2 separate regions of the Homo sapiens genome follow, and region 1 is linked to region 2. Evidence: promoter capture Hi-C in 16 types of primary human blood cells and fetal thymus (Javierre and others, 2016). All regions are on one chromosome and are shown on one strand. Each heading gives the region's core, a stretch centred on a gene start or on the middle of the fragment in contact. The rest is flanking DNA. Distances are from core to core; before and after follow the strand shown.

What was found. Contacts are between HindIII fragments. The CHiCAGO score rates a contact against its expected background, and 5 or more counts as called.
Region 1: a fragment that was not itself captured here is called in contact with the fragment with the promoter of KLHL9 in region 2 in 1 of 17 cell types (activated CD4 T cells); the score reaches 5.1 in activated CD4 T cells.

Annotation. Positions count from the first base shown.
Region 1 is chr9:21,981,064-21,987,281 of GRCh38, reverse strand. LOC124902130 (a long non-coding RNA gene) reads left to right here. Exons shown (of 2, transcript XR_007061436.1): 2 at 1-6,218. It also overlaps a transcript of CDKN2A not described here. Among named protein-coding and RNA genes, the nearest start is that of CDKN2A, 9.3 kb to the right of the region's middle. The HindIII fragment of the contact is 2,005 bases long and covers 526-2,530 here.
Region 2 is chr9:21,332,169-21,338,994 of GRCh38, reverse strand. KLHL9 (kelch like family member 9) reads left to right here and starts at 3,591. Exons shown (of 1, transcript NM_018847.4): 1 at 3,591-6,826. The coding sequence starts at 4,136. The coding sequence ends at 5,989. It overlaps LOC107987053 (a long non-coding RNA gene), which reads right to left. Exons shown (of 3, transcript XR_001746634.2): 3 at 1,694-2,374. RefSeq lists a silencer at 3,402-3,571 and enhancers at 3,612-3,921, 4,112-4,161. The HindIII fragment of the contact is 830 bases long and covers 3,301-4,130 here.

The DNA.
Region 1 (6,218 bases), core at 279-2,778, 650 kb before region 2:
ATGCTTATCTAAGATCAGGGCAAGATTGCAGGAAAATGTAGCCATAACAGAATAAAGCATTTATGGACAAAATGATGGGTCTTTATGTCTCTGTAAAAGCACAGTGATGGGGGGGGAAATATAGATGAAAAATGTAAGCTAAAAAGTAACAATTATAAGAAAAACTAAAATATCATGCCTTTCAAATGATCATTTTTCTGCTTTTAAGCTAAAATTTGTCTAATATTACACCAGTGACTTTGCTGATGTATTAGGAAAAAGCTTGTTTTGCTTTCTTTTCTCGAGTGCCACCATTTTCTTGCTCTCATTCTCTTTCAGGCTGCCAGATCATCTGACTCAGCAATTGTATAACTCTCTCACCCAATTTAAAGAAACAGCAGCTGTCTAGAGAACAATGACTCCCCCAGTTGAACATCTAATTGTTAAATGTCCAACATCGGACACTTTGAATTTTACTCCATGCAATTTACATGCTGAATAGTTGAAGTTGAATATATTATATTTAACATTTAATTTTTAAAAGCTTATTGAAACTTTCTTCCTAAATCACATGGTAAAGTTATTGTTTTCTTCAAAAACAATTAGGAGGAGCTTAACAATAATAGGACACTTCAACTTCCATTATCTAATTTAATTATCACAATATCCTTATGTTTTCAATGTTTCATTTTTTCATTTTGTAGATCTGGAGACTGAGGCTCAGATAGGTTGCATGGCCTACCAAAAGTCATTGACTAGTAATTCATATATAGTTGAACTTGGTTGCCCATGGAGTGCTATAAATATGTATATGGTTTCAGTTCCATCTCTTTTAGTTAACTATTATTTTGAAAGTCGCTTAACCCCTTTGGGCCTCTACTATACTCAAGCATCAGCCGTATAAGTCACAGTAAATATTTATTGGTTGAAAGGAGGTTAACATCTTTCAAAAATTTATTTTTTGACCAAAATAAAACCAGTGAAAAATTCTCATATGACTGTACATATAAATTACTTATTCCTACCTTAATTTAAAAGCAATAAGTGGGATACCTATTCACCAGCACAGGAACCACTTGAAGCGTGCAGTTGAAAGATTACTTTCTTTAGCATTCACATGACCTGTGAGCAGATTCTATTTCTTTTGCTTATTAGCTGTCATGGTACCAGAATGAAGTATGAGAAACTCTCAGTGCTTTCATGTTCTCATCTGTAAACCTGAGACCCTATGGTAGTCCCGTAATAAGAGGTAGATAAAATAGTATGTGTGAAGAGTCACTGTAAACTTTTACACAGTGTACGTTTGTCAGTTATTATAGTGCCTAATTAAACTATGCCCTTAAGAAAGCACATTAGTTTTTTACAGTAAATACCTACTTCATTATAATTTTTCAGTGTAGCTAGAAATTTCTAAACTCCACTTTAAAAATATACATATCATAATAAAAATATATTTATGTATTCAGACTCCTGGTATGTTCCAAGGTGTTAGGTAAAATCAGTGTAAATTTGCATACTTTTAAATTCACATCTGTACAGAAGATCTATATGGTGGCCTTTAGGGTATACCTCTAAGCTATTCTAGTATTCATAATCATTAAAGAGATATTAAGCAGTGTTTGTGAACCCCTGTTTTCTAAGACAGGAAATCAAGGTAGCTTTAGAAAACTGGAAAAAAAGTTATTAGTCTATCTATCTAATAACCCAGAATAATAATTTCCAAAGGAATCACTGAAGATAACTGGATTTTTAATTCCTTCAGAATGGTTGTCACAGTCTGAATATCTGAATCAACAGTTTTGACCAAAACAATTTTCTAAAAATTCTTTAGTATAAAAAATTATGTGTGTGTGTGTCTGTGTGATGAAAGGAATGATAGGCAGAAACATTACTGTCATCCTTACGACATTCAAAATGCCTACCTTGGAGGGTGACCTTCAGTTATTTTTATGCAAATGTGAAGAAGTTATTTAGAAGTAGGATATCAAAGAGTAACACAAAATACACTAAATAGTATGCTTTCTTAAGGCTAAATTGACTTGGGGGTTTTAAATCAGTACAGAGTAAACATACAGTATATTCTGTTATCATTGCCTTTTTGAAAAATTAATTATGGAAGTTATCATCTTAACCGTAACAACACAAAAGATAAAACTCTACCCTCAACCCAGAGACTCAAAGGAAAACATGAGTGGAAATGTTAAATCTGTATGTGAAAAGTGCTAAAACATGAATAGGAAGCAGTTACTTATTTAATCAAAGTTGATTATATTTCATCAAGAAGTTGATTCCCTTGAGTGGAGTTGAATCACATATCAGGTGAAGAATGTGATTTGGGGAAGAATGGTCTAACACAAGAAAATTTTCTTGCAATCTTTAATAATATCAGAGGGGAGATTGGCTTCAGAACTCTCCTAAGTTCAGGAAAGGACACAGAAAATTGAACATAACAGTAAGACTATAGAGTCCCAAGAAAGCAAGCTACTTTTAAAGGATAGTTTTTTAGAGGGGCAAAAGGGGGACAACCATTCTCCATTTGATGAGAAAAGCTTCCATGTAGATGGTGCCCCTGAAATTAGAGTATCCTAAACCAGTGTTAAACCTATCAGTGAAACATGAATATTAAACCTCCACTCCCAGTAGTGAAAACCGAATACATTATTATTTATCTGTGACTTTCAACATTATCTCAGAACTCTAACAGCACATGCGTACATCAGCAGCATAAGCAGAAATGAGATATTATATATGCTTGTGTTAGCAATTAAAAAGGACAGCATATTTGAGAGGGGAAAATCTGTCCTATCAAGAATGAAAAAGAGGGAGGTTAGGAAAAGTAGTTTAGAGAAAGTAAATTTTGCAATTCCTCAGTTTTAACTGTAGTTTCTCCATTGTACCTTCCACTTGAAATGCACTCCAAGCAGTGGAGGTGGGTAGCAATGAATGCAGAGGAAACACTGAACACAGTGACACTCTCCAGTGTCACTTCTCATGATTTAATGAGGGGTTTTTTTTGGAAATTCTTCTGTCATAACATGGGAAACTTTGTTACAAAGAAGCTGTTTTTTCAGAGGGTTAGAATTCAGAGGTAGCATCATACCTTTTAGAAGAGAATTTGCTTGTTGAAACCACAGATACCTGCTAGAATGTACAGGAATTAATGAAAAATTACTCAAAAGGACATTTATTTTGATGACCTAAATGAATAACTTCATAGTAAATGTCATATATATTCTCAAAAAATTAAAAAGCACCATTTATTGAGAGCCTACCGTGCACCCGGATTTTTATATATCTGACATTCTTTATTCCTCACAGTAACCTTATGGGGTAAATTTTATTTTCCCCACTTTGTGAGGTGAGGAAATAAAGGCTCAGAAAGTTTACATAACTTATTCAAGCCCACAGAGCTGGTAAATGAGAGGTCAGTTCTATCTGAGTTTAAAGACTAGGCTTGTCCCACTTGCATATGTGTCATTTCCAAAATTATGATTAAGGATATGGTTGGCATTTCCCGCCACCCACATTAAGTCCAATTAAGTAGCTGTGGCCATAGAAAGAATGGAGAATGGAGAGAGGAACTGACTTCAACAGCTACAGCAAACATTTATTAGCTGAGTAACCATAGCTACATAGTTCCTCAATATGTACCACTCCTCCATTTTGTTATCTATAAATCAAAATGGTGGCTTTTTAAAAAGCAGTTTTACAATATATTCAAGAGCCTTCTACCCTTTGAAAAACTGCAATACTATTTTTAGTAGCAATTAGAAACACCTTAAATATCTGACAACAGGGACATCATTAAGTAAATTATAACTTTTTCCAGTGGGATGTGTTACAGCTGTTAAAAGTAGCATTTATGAAGTGTTTTTGGAGAAGTTTGGAAAATGCTGTAATAAGTTAGAAAAAGCTCATTTCAAAATTGCATAATATTCACAATGTAAAGATTAAGCAAAGAAAAAGGAAGAAGTATTTCAAAATGTTAATAATTATTGCTTTGTGTGGGGTAGTTTTTCATTTTCTATGTGCAGCTAATTCCTTAATTATTTTTAAATATGTGAGCTTTAATCAGGAAAGCAAATCATTCAAAAATGAGGGGACTGAATTAAGTGACTTTCAGGGGACTTTGCGTGTCTTTGAGTTCCAAATTTCTATCACTATGTATTACTACTGAAGAATAATCATAGAAGCACAGTAGTTTCTGAAAATGGAGAGTCAGTAATCTTGGCCCAGGTTTTGCAACTTGCTCTAAAGCAGAGTCCTCAAAGAAAAGGAAGCATTGATGAGTTGTCCACAATGTACTGGATAAATTATCATTAGGAAAACATATTGTAGTAGGGAGAGTGAGGACCTCTCAAACAGAACTGAGAACCTTAAGTTTGAACTTTTCTTTTCCTTATTACTTAAGCACTCTGAGCTTTTTTTTTTGTCTGCATTATGAAGAAAGAATAATACTCTCTATCCCATGGGACAGCTGTGGAATTATAAATTACACATATAAAACTGCTTGATGCTTGTCACATAGCTGGGGGTTGAAAAAATGATAGCCATTATTTTCTTGGCAACTTTTAATGAATTTTTTATTATCTCTATTTCTTTCTGCCTATCTCCTCTAATTATGTTTATTACTTATTTTGTTCCTCAGGATGAGGTCAATTCTCAATATCTGTGCTGTACATAATATACATATATACCAAATATGTGCATATAGTATGTACATACATACATACTGTGCTAATCTTTTAGTGTTCTCAGCTGATCAAATAGCTACAAATAGATATAAGTAATTCGCCACAAGTAATTTATCAACATAAAAAAAATTTACAAAAAAGTTAAGGAATAATTGTCTCCATGAGCTGCAAAGATCCCTCATTTCACAAGAGTACACCCTAGAGATATTTTAATAGTAAATTTCTCACATAGATTTAAAATCACATTTGTTTTGCACATAATTTAGAAAAGATACCTGCTATATAATAAGTAATATACTTTTAAGTTTCCTTCAAAATATTCTTGGGAAGATGATAATAGGTACTGCTAATTCTATACCCAGTTAACATTTTGGAAACTAAGGTTGAAAATTGTGACTTAACTATAATTATGCATTAAATCTACAACACATCAAAGAATTTTGCATTTTGTACTCCTTACTAAGATCCAGTTTGAGTAGGAAGATAAATTTTACAGTAATTCTGAATGAGGGAAGTTGGCACAGAGTTTCTAAAAGAGTACCTTCCTTATAGCAAATACTAAATAATTGTGCTATATTGAATTTAATTAAATAGAGAATAGTAAAAGGGAGAAAGAAACATCCAATGTTTTGAAACTTCTAGAGATCTACTCCCAGGGACACATTGTTTTTTCTTAGCAAATCTGTTTGGAGGTCTGCTCTACTTTCTCAGAGGTCTCCCTTTCATGCTGAAGCTATCTTTTTTCCTTGTGGAACATAAGTAATTAAATACCTTGCAATTATTTACCTAAGAAAGTGTTTCTTTCCCGTTTAAAATGCTCTTACCACCCACATTGGACTCGATTATCAGAATTTTTATCCGGGGCAGCTTCAGGAGCACTTTGGCACTTCGGGGCTAAACCACAATCTGTTTTTACATGTTTGTGATTATACCCGTTTTGTAGATCAAGACATTGAAGCTAGTAAAAAAAAAAAAAAGTCATTTTTTCAGGGTAACAAAGTAGGTGGTAGAACTAGGACAGGGACTCTAATTTCCTTACATTATTGCTTTTCTAAATTAAAGGGATGCATGGAATTATTCCTCCATTGCCTTTGCCTTCAAATAATTATCTATTGCACCCAACATCCTATTCTAGAACTCATCTATGAAGGCTTAACACAGCTGTACCTGGGAGCTCCATTACAGGGCATATATCTCGCTCTCATAAGCTACTTCCTAAGGAATTCTCTTTAATTATGGGAGCTTTTCCAGACTCTGAAATCTTTTTTTCCTGGTAACACAAGTGTGAGGTGTCATTTATCAGAATGCATCACCCCAGTCTTCCCTCCTCAAATGATTACTGTAGGCTCCACTCAAGAGCTCATCCCAGTTCAAGACCACCTTCCTCCTCCAGAGAAGCAAATATATATATACACGTATATATATATATACACGTATATATATATATACACGTATATATATATATACACGTATATATATATATACACGTATATATATATATACACGTATATATATACACGTATATATATATATACACGTATATAT
Region 2 (6,826 bases), core at 2,342-4,841:
GTAAACAAAATCGAGAAAGTTGCATCATAGGGAATATAGCTAACATCTACATAAAGGGTTTATATATACTTTTAAGAGGGGCGTATAAAAGCATAATTCATAAGAACAATAAAAACTACAATTAATGCCATAAAATGAAATCTAAATAGAATTAAGAACAGCAAGTGAAGCAAATGGAAAGGCATTATAGCCCACTAGTACTCAAAAACTATTAAACAATTATTCTTGAAATTTTAGATTATTAAATAAGCAGTAAGACAATATAGCCTATGAAATAAAGTATTAATTTTATATGCTTTGTGCCATTATATCCATTCCCTGAAATCAATCCTAAATAAAAGTTTGTAAAAAGGTTACAAAATTATATCCGATAATACAAACACACATTTTTCTCCAGGTACTACCTTCTTGCTCTTCTTCCACTCACAGATAAACTTCTAAAAGAAGTTTCCATCCACTGTGTCTCCAACCTCTCCTGCTATTTACTCTAGTCAATATATTCCAATCTGGATTTTGCCAAATTAATTCTGGCAAACCAGTCCTTTCTTTTCCTAAATGTAAAACGTCATGTTTTAAACACATTTCTTCCCTTAAACACCCTCTTATCACAATTTTCTCCTGGTTGTCCTCCTATTTTGCTCCTGGATGTCCTCCTATCATTTCATTCACATGCCCTTTTCAGGTTCCTCACTCTGTTCACTACATTAAGATGTAAAGGTCCTCAAGATCCAGGTTTTGGTCTTCTGATTCACTACTCAATTTCTACCAGACCTCATCCATCCTTGGGCCTTCAGGAAAAAGGTATAGCCCAGCTCCCAAATGAACATCTCTAGCCATGCACTCTAAATCCCAGAACTGTGTATCCAATTTTCAAGGCTTAAAGTCTTCCAGTTTCTGATGACAAAAACCACTTTTCTTTTGCCTATGGTTTGAGTTTATGATAGAGTTGAAATTAATTAATTGGTTAATAGTTTTATTTCTCCCTCAGCAAAAAGTTTCAAGAGGGCTGAAGCTGTGTTTCCTTTATTCACTTTTCTATCCTGAAAAGTCACATATCAAGTGTTTCATACAGTGTGAATGGAATGAATGAACTGAACTTCACTTGAGGTTGCAAAACCAACCTTGGCATTGATTTATTGAGTAAGGCCAGGTATGGTGGCTCATGCCAGTAATCCCAGCAGTGTGGGAGGCTGAGGTGGGAGGATTGTTGAGGCTAGGAGTTTGAGGCTGTAGTGAGCTATGAACCTGCCACTGCACTCCAGCTTAGTGACAGAGCAAGACCTTGTGTTTGTTTTTTTTAAATAAACAAATGCAAAATGATCTGAAAGTAAAACTCGAAATAATAAAGAGAATAATTTTCAAAATATAAAGTGAGGGGCCAGGCATGGTGGCTCACGCCTGTAATCCCAGCACTTTGGGAGGCTGAGGCAGGCGGATCACAAGGTCAGGAGTTTGAGAGCAGACTGGCCAGCATGGTGAAACTCTATCTCTACTAAAAATACAAAAAATTAGCTGGGCATGGTGGCGCGCACCTGTAGTCCCAGCTACTCGGGACGCTAAGGCAGGAGAATTGCTTGACCCTGGGAGGCGGAGGTTGCAGTGAGCCGAGATCGCACCACTGTACTCCAGCCTGGGTGACAGAGCGAGACTCCGTCAAAACAAAACAAAACAAAACAAACAAACAAAATATACATAAAGTGAACACTTTTTAATGTAATTAGCACAGTGTTAAAAGTGAACATTTCATACAAGCAAAAATACTGAATACAATAAATGTAGTAGAATCAATAATTAAGTACATGGGTAAATTAATAATATCATCCATGGTGAGCTAATGCCCCTAAGAACTGGATGCTTTATCATACAGTTGCTTGACATTACCAACAAGTATTGTGACAAATTTGATTCAATCATTTCATTATGCAGGCAGAAAAGATAGTCTTTTAAAATAACTAAACATATGGGAATATAATGAAGAGTGTCTATAGTAATCATTTCATGAAGACACAAGTCTGTTCCTAAGCTATTAATCTTACTTGCAAGTTTGATGAAAAAAAGAAGGATCTCATGATTTCTTGCTCCAACTTCCCATGTACAGAGGCTCTCTTCTTTCTTTTCCAGATAGAGACTGATTCCTTGGAAGTAGCTCTTCACAGCATTAGGGAGTTGTCATGGCCTGAGAGAGCCCTTCCACCCCTAACTCATTCAACAAGCAGGGCTCCAGGACTTCCCAATGCTGATAAAAATTCAGTGAATAATTTCTCCAGGCCAGTTTCATTCCAACCAACCTCTTGTGTTGAATAAGGTGACAATCTGCTGGAGCACCTTGTGGAGGACAGTGGTAGTCTAAGCCTTCTGAATTTTGCTGCCATCCCTTGGAAACAATAGAAAACATTCAAAACAGATGAACTGCCCATCAACAGGGCACTGGTTAAATAACTTATGATGTAACAACTCAGAAGGCAACAACAGAATTGTTTAAAAATATAAATAAGCCCTCTACACTAATTCAGGAAGATCTTGAAGTGAAAAAAAAAGATGCAGAACAGTGTACATGGTATGCTATCTTTTACATAAAAACGAGGCGAGTGTAAGAAAAACATGACTACATTCTTACTTTGCATATGCATAAAGAACTAGAAGGATTTAAAAGACAGAAACTTCAAAATTTGGAAAATGGAAGAAATTGTGTCAAAGTATACATTTATTTGTATGTCAAAATTTAAATTTACCACTAATTAAAGAAATGCAAGTTAATAAAATACTCACAAAGGGAAAAGTCAGAAGAAGGGAAAGACACAAACATTGTTGGTGATAATATTTTGGAAATATTGTCTTGGATCAGTATTTTACTAAATATTATCCATAACAGGGCTAAAATTTTGCTACCAGATTGTATAAGTTTACTACCGAGTCTATAAAACAATGGAGGATAAGAAGGTACACATTCAGGAACAAACCAATGGGCAAAGGAAACTATAGTATGTATAGTTATTGGAAAATTATGTAGCCATTTTTAAAATTGTGGAAAACAAAGGCATTTCAAGCCAAAAATTTAGAATATATCATTTACATAATAAAGTAACAATCTAGTAAAGACAAATATTTTGCGTTTGAAATTGTAACAAATTTGAAAATATGAACCAAAATTGTAACTGAAGTATCTACTACATAATGTGGGATAACAATTATTGTTTTGTAGAGGAAAAAAAAAATTAAGCATCCAGGTTTCCTCTCAATTTATACAAATGCCGCATTTCACTGTTATTCAAAAAAACAGAAGCTAGGAAGCGTAAAGCTTTGAAAAATTATGCATTTGGGGAACGTAAGAGCTCAGATATGCGAAAAACTTATATCAAACGTGCAGCATAACACACTTGCTTGCACACATTCTGTCCTATTTGGTCCCACATACAAGGCAGCTCTAAGAGGCCGGGCTGGCGCCCACCCCACACAGCTCCGCTTCCCCAACCCTCGCCCTCCCGCCTCCCGGGTACTTCCTCCCCCTTCCCCACCCCCACCCTCCCGCTGACTGACGAGGTCTGGAGGCCGCGCAGCCGCAGTAGCCGCTAAGGCCGCTCCCACCCCGTGGTATCCTGGGACTAGGCTTTTCCGGAAGGAGCGGCTCGGTGTTGGGGCTAGGCCGGTATTCTAGGCCCAAGCCCAGGCCCAGGCCTGTGTTCCCGGCCCTTGCTCAAAGACAGGCCGGTGGCCGCTGCGACACTCTAGGTACAGCGGAGGGCGCAGCGGGCCGTTCGCTGAGGTGTCCGGACCCGCCGCCGAGCGGGCCGTGGAGCCACAGTACGTGGCGGCGCCTCTTCCTTGCCCGAAGCGGAACTGCTGAAGGAGCGGCAGCGCAGGCCGGACGAGGTGAACCAGGTCATTTAACCGCCTTCAGGTGATGAATCATCTGTCTAATAATCAGATTTGAGGTCCACAGCCCTTTGTGGTCCTGCTACAGGGTGATTTTCAGTGGATGACTGACTGGCGTGGCCCGAGGGGTGCCGCAGTGACTGCCTTCCCTTGATAAGGAAACGAGCTTTCTGTTCTTTCTGGACACCTCGTTACCTGTAAAACATTCCGGTTATAACTTCTTTATCCGGCTTGCATCTCTGTGCAAGAGGAAAGCTTTCACATGAAAGTGTCCCTTGGTAACGGCGAAATGGGCGTCTCTGCCCATTTGCAGCCTTGTAAGGCAGGAACCACACGCTTTTTTACCAGCAATACTCACAGTTCGGTGGTATTGCAAGGCTTTGATCAGCTTAGAATAGAAGGATTGCTTTGTGATGTGACCCTGGTACCAGGTGATGGAGATGAAATCTTCCCTGTTCACAGAGCTATGATGGCGTCTGCTAGTGATTATTTCAAAGCCATGTTCACAGGTGGAATGAAAGAACAAGATTTGATGTGCATTAAGCTTCATGGGGTGAACAAGGTTGGTCTGAAGAAAATCATTGATTTTATTTATACTGCAAAACTTTCTCTTAATATGGACAATCTTCAGGACACACTTGAAGCTGCTAGCTTTTTACAAATATTACCCGTTTTGGATTTCTGTAAAGTATTTCTTATATCAGGAGTCTCTTTGGATAACTGTGTTGAGGTTGGACGAATTGCTAACACCTACAATCTTATAGAAGTGGATAAATATGTTAATAATTTCATCCTGAAGAACTTTCCTGCTTTATTGAGTACTGGGGAGTTTCTAAAACTCCCTTTTGAACGACTTGCATTTGTGCTTTCCAGTAATAGTCTTAAGCACTGTACCGAACTTGAACTCTTTAAGGCAGCCTGTCGCTGGCTAAGGTTGGAAGACCCTCGGATGGATTATGCTGCAAAGTTAATGAAGAATATTCGATTTCCACTGATGACACCACAGGATCTCATCAATTACGTGCAGACAGTAGATTTCATGAGAACAGACAATACCTGCGTGAATTTGCTTTTGGAAGCTAGCAATTACCAAATGATGCCATATATGCAGCCAGTGATGCAGTCAGATAGAACTGCCATTCGATCTGACTCCACTCACTTGGTTACATTAGGAGGAGTTTTGAGGCAGCAGCTGGTTGTCAGTAAAGAATTACGGATGTATGATGAAAGGGCACAAGAATGGAGATCTTTAGCCCCAATGGATGCTCCCCGTTACCAGCATGGTATTGCTGTCATTGGAAACTTTCTTTATGTAGTTGGTGGTCAGAGTAATTATGATACAAAAGGAAAAACTGCTGTTGATACAGTTTTCAGATTTGATCCTCGGTATAATAAATGGATGCAGGTTGCATCATTAAATGAAAAGCGCACATTCTTTCACTTGAGTGCCCTCAAAGGACATTTGTATGCAGTTGGTGGGCGCAGTGCAGCTGGTGAACTGGCCACAGTAGAATGTTACAACCCAAGAATGAATGAGTGGAGCTATGTTGCAAAAATGAGTGAACCCCACTATGGTCATGCTGGAACAGTATATGGAGGCTTAATGTATATTTCAGGAGGAATTACCCATGACACTTTCCAAAATGAGCTCATGTGTTTTGACCCAGATACAGATAAATGGATGCAAAAGGCTCCAATGACTACAGTCAGAGGTCTGCATTGCATGTGTACAGTTGGAGATAAGCTCTATGTCATTGGTGGCAATCACTTCAGAGGAACAAGTGATTATGATGATGTTCTAAGCTGTGAATACTATTCACCAACCCTTGACCAGTGGACCCCAATTGCCGCCATGTTAAGAGGCCAAAGTGATGTTGGAGTTGCCGTCTTTGAAAATAAAATCTATGTTGTTGGTGGATATTCTTGGAATAATCGTTGTATGGTAGAAATTGTCCAGAAATATGACCCAGAAAAAGATGAGTGGCATAAAGTTTTTGATCTTCCAGAGTCACTTGGTGGCATTCGAGCCTGTACACTCACAGTTTTTCCACCTGAAGAAAACCCTGGGTCACCTTCTAGAGAATCACCTCTTTCAGCACCTTCAGATCATTCTTAGGTCTAAGGTGTAACACCTTTGCAGTACGTCATGGGTGATCTAATACTTCCCCTTCAGTTGTATCTTCTTACAGTGATTGGTACAGTTATTAGATATAAAGGTAACTGATGTTATTCGTCTTGTATGGCTTTTAGTATGTTTATCAAGTGGCTAACAAATGCATTCTGAAAATGTATTTAACATAGCTGTTTTAACAAATGAAAAAAAGACGTAGAAAAATGTTTAGATGTCTTTTTGTGATGTTATATAAAATTGTAGATGACTGTGGTAAATGTGTAATTATGTCCATTATGCTTCAAAGTTGAGTTTTCATCTTTGACTCCAAAATGTCAGAGGGAGGCCGCTCTAAACTAAAAATAACGAAAGGTTGCCAAGTATTAATACTAGTTACCTCCCTCTTTTCGTAGTTTTTGTCATGTCTGTCAACTTACTCGATTGTGTGGTTGCATTCAGAATATTTGAAGTTTCTTACGTAGACAGAAATAATAAAAATATTAACTAGGAAAAAACAGTATAGCACCAAGCCAGTATTTGGTATCTCTCTCTAGAGCGAGCAAGAGAGGGAGAGAGGAGGAAAAAATACACATAATACAAACATACATGCATGCACACATACATACATATGTATACACACACATAATTTGAAAACTGATTGGCACTTCAACGATGCTGAAATTGTTTTTAAATTGAAGTTTCTTTCTTCCACAAAGCAGCCGTTTCTATTCAAATGGAAATTCAGTACCAGAGAATAAATGTCTATGTAGTCATACTGAATTTAGATAGATAAGGGCTACAGCATACTAAATCGACAACCAAATTTGTCATGTGACTAAACCG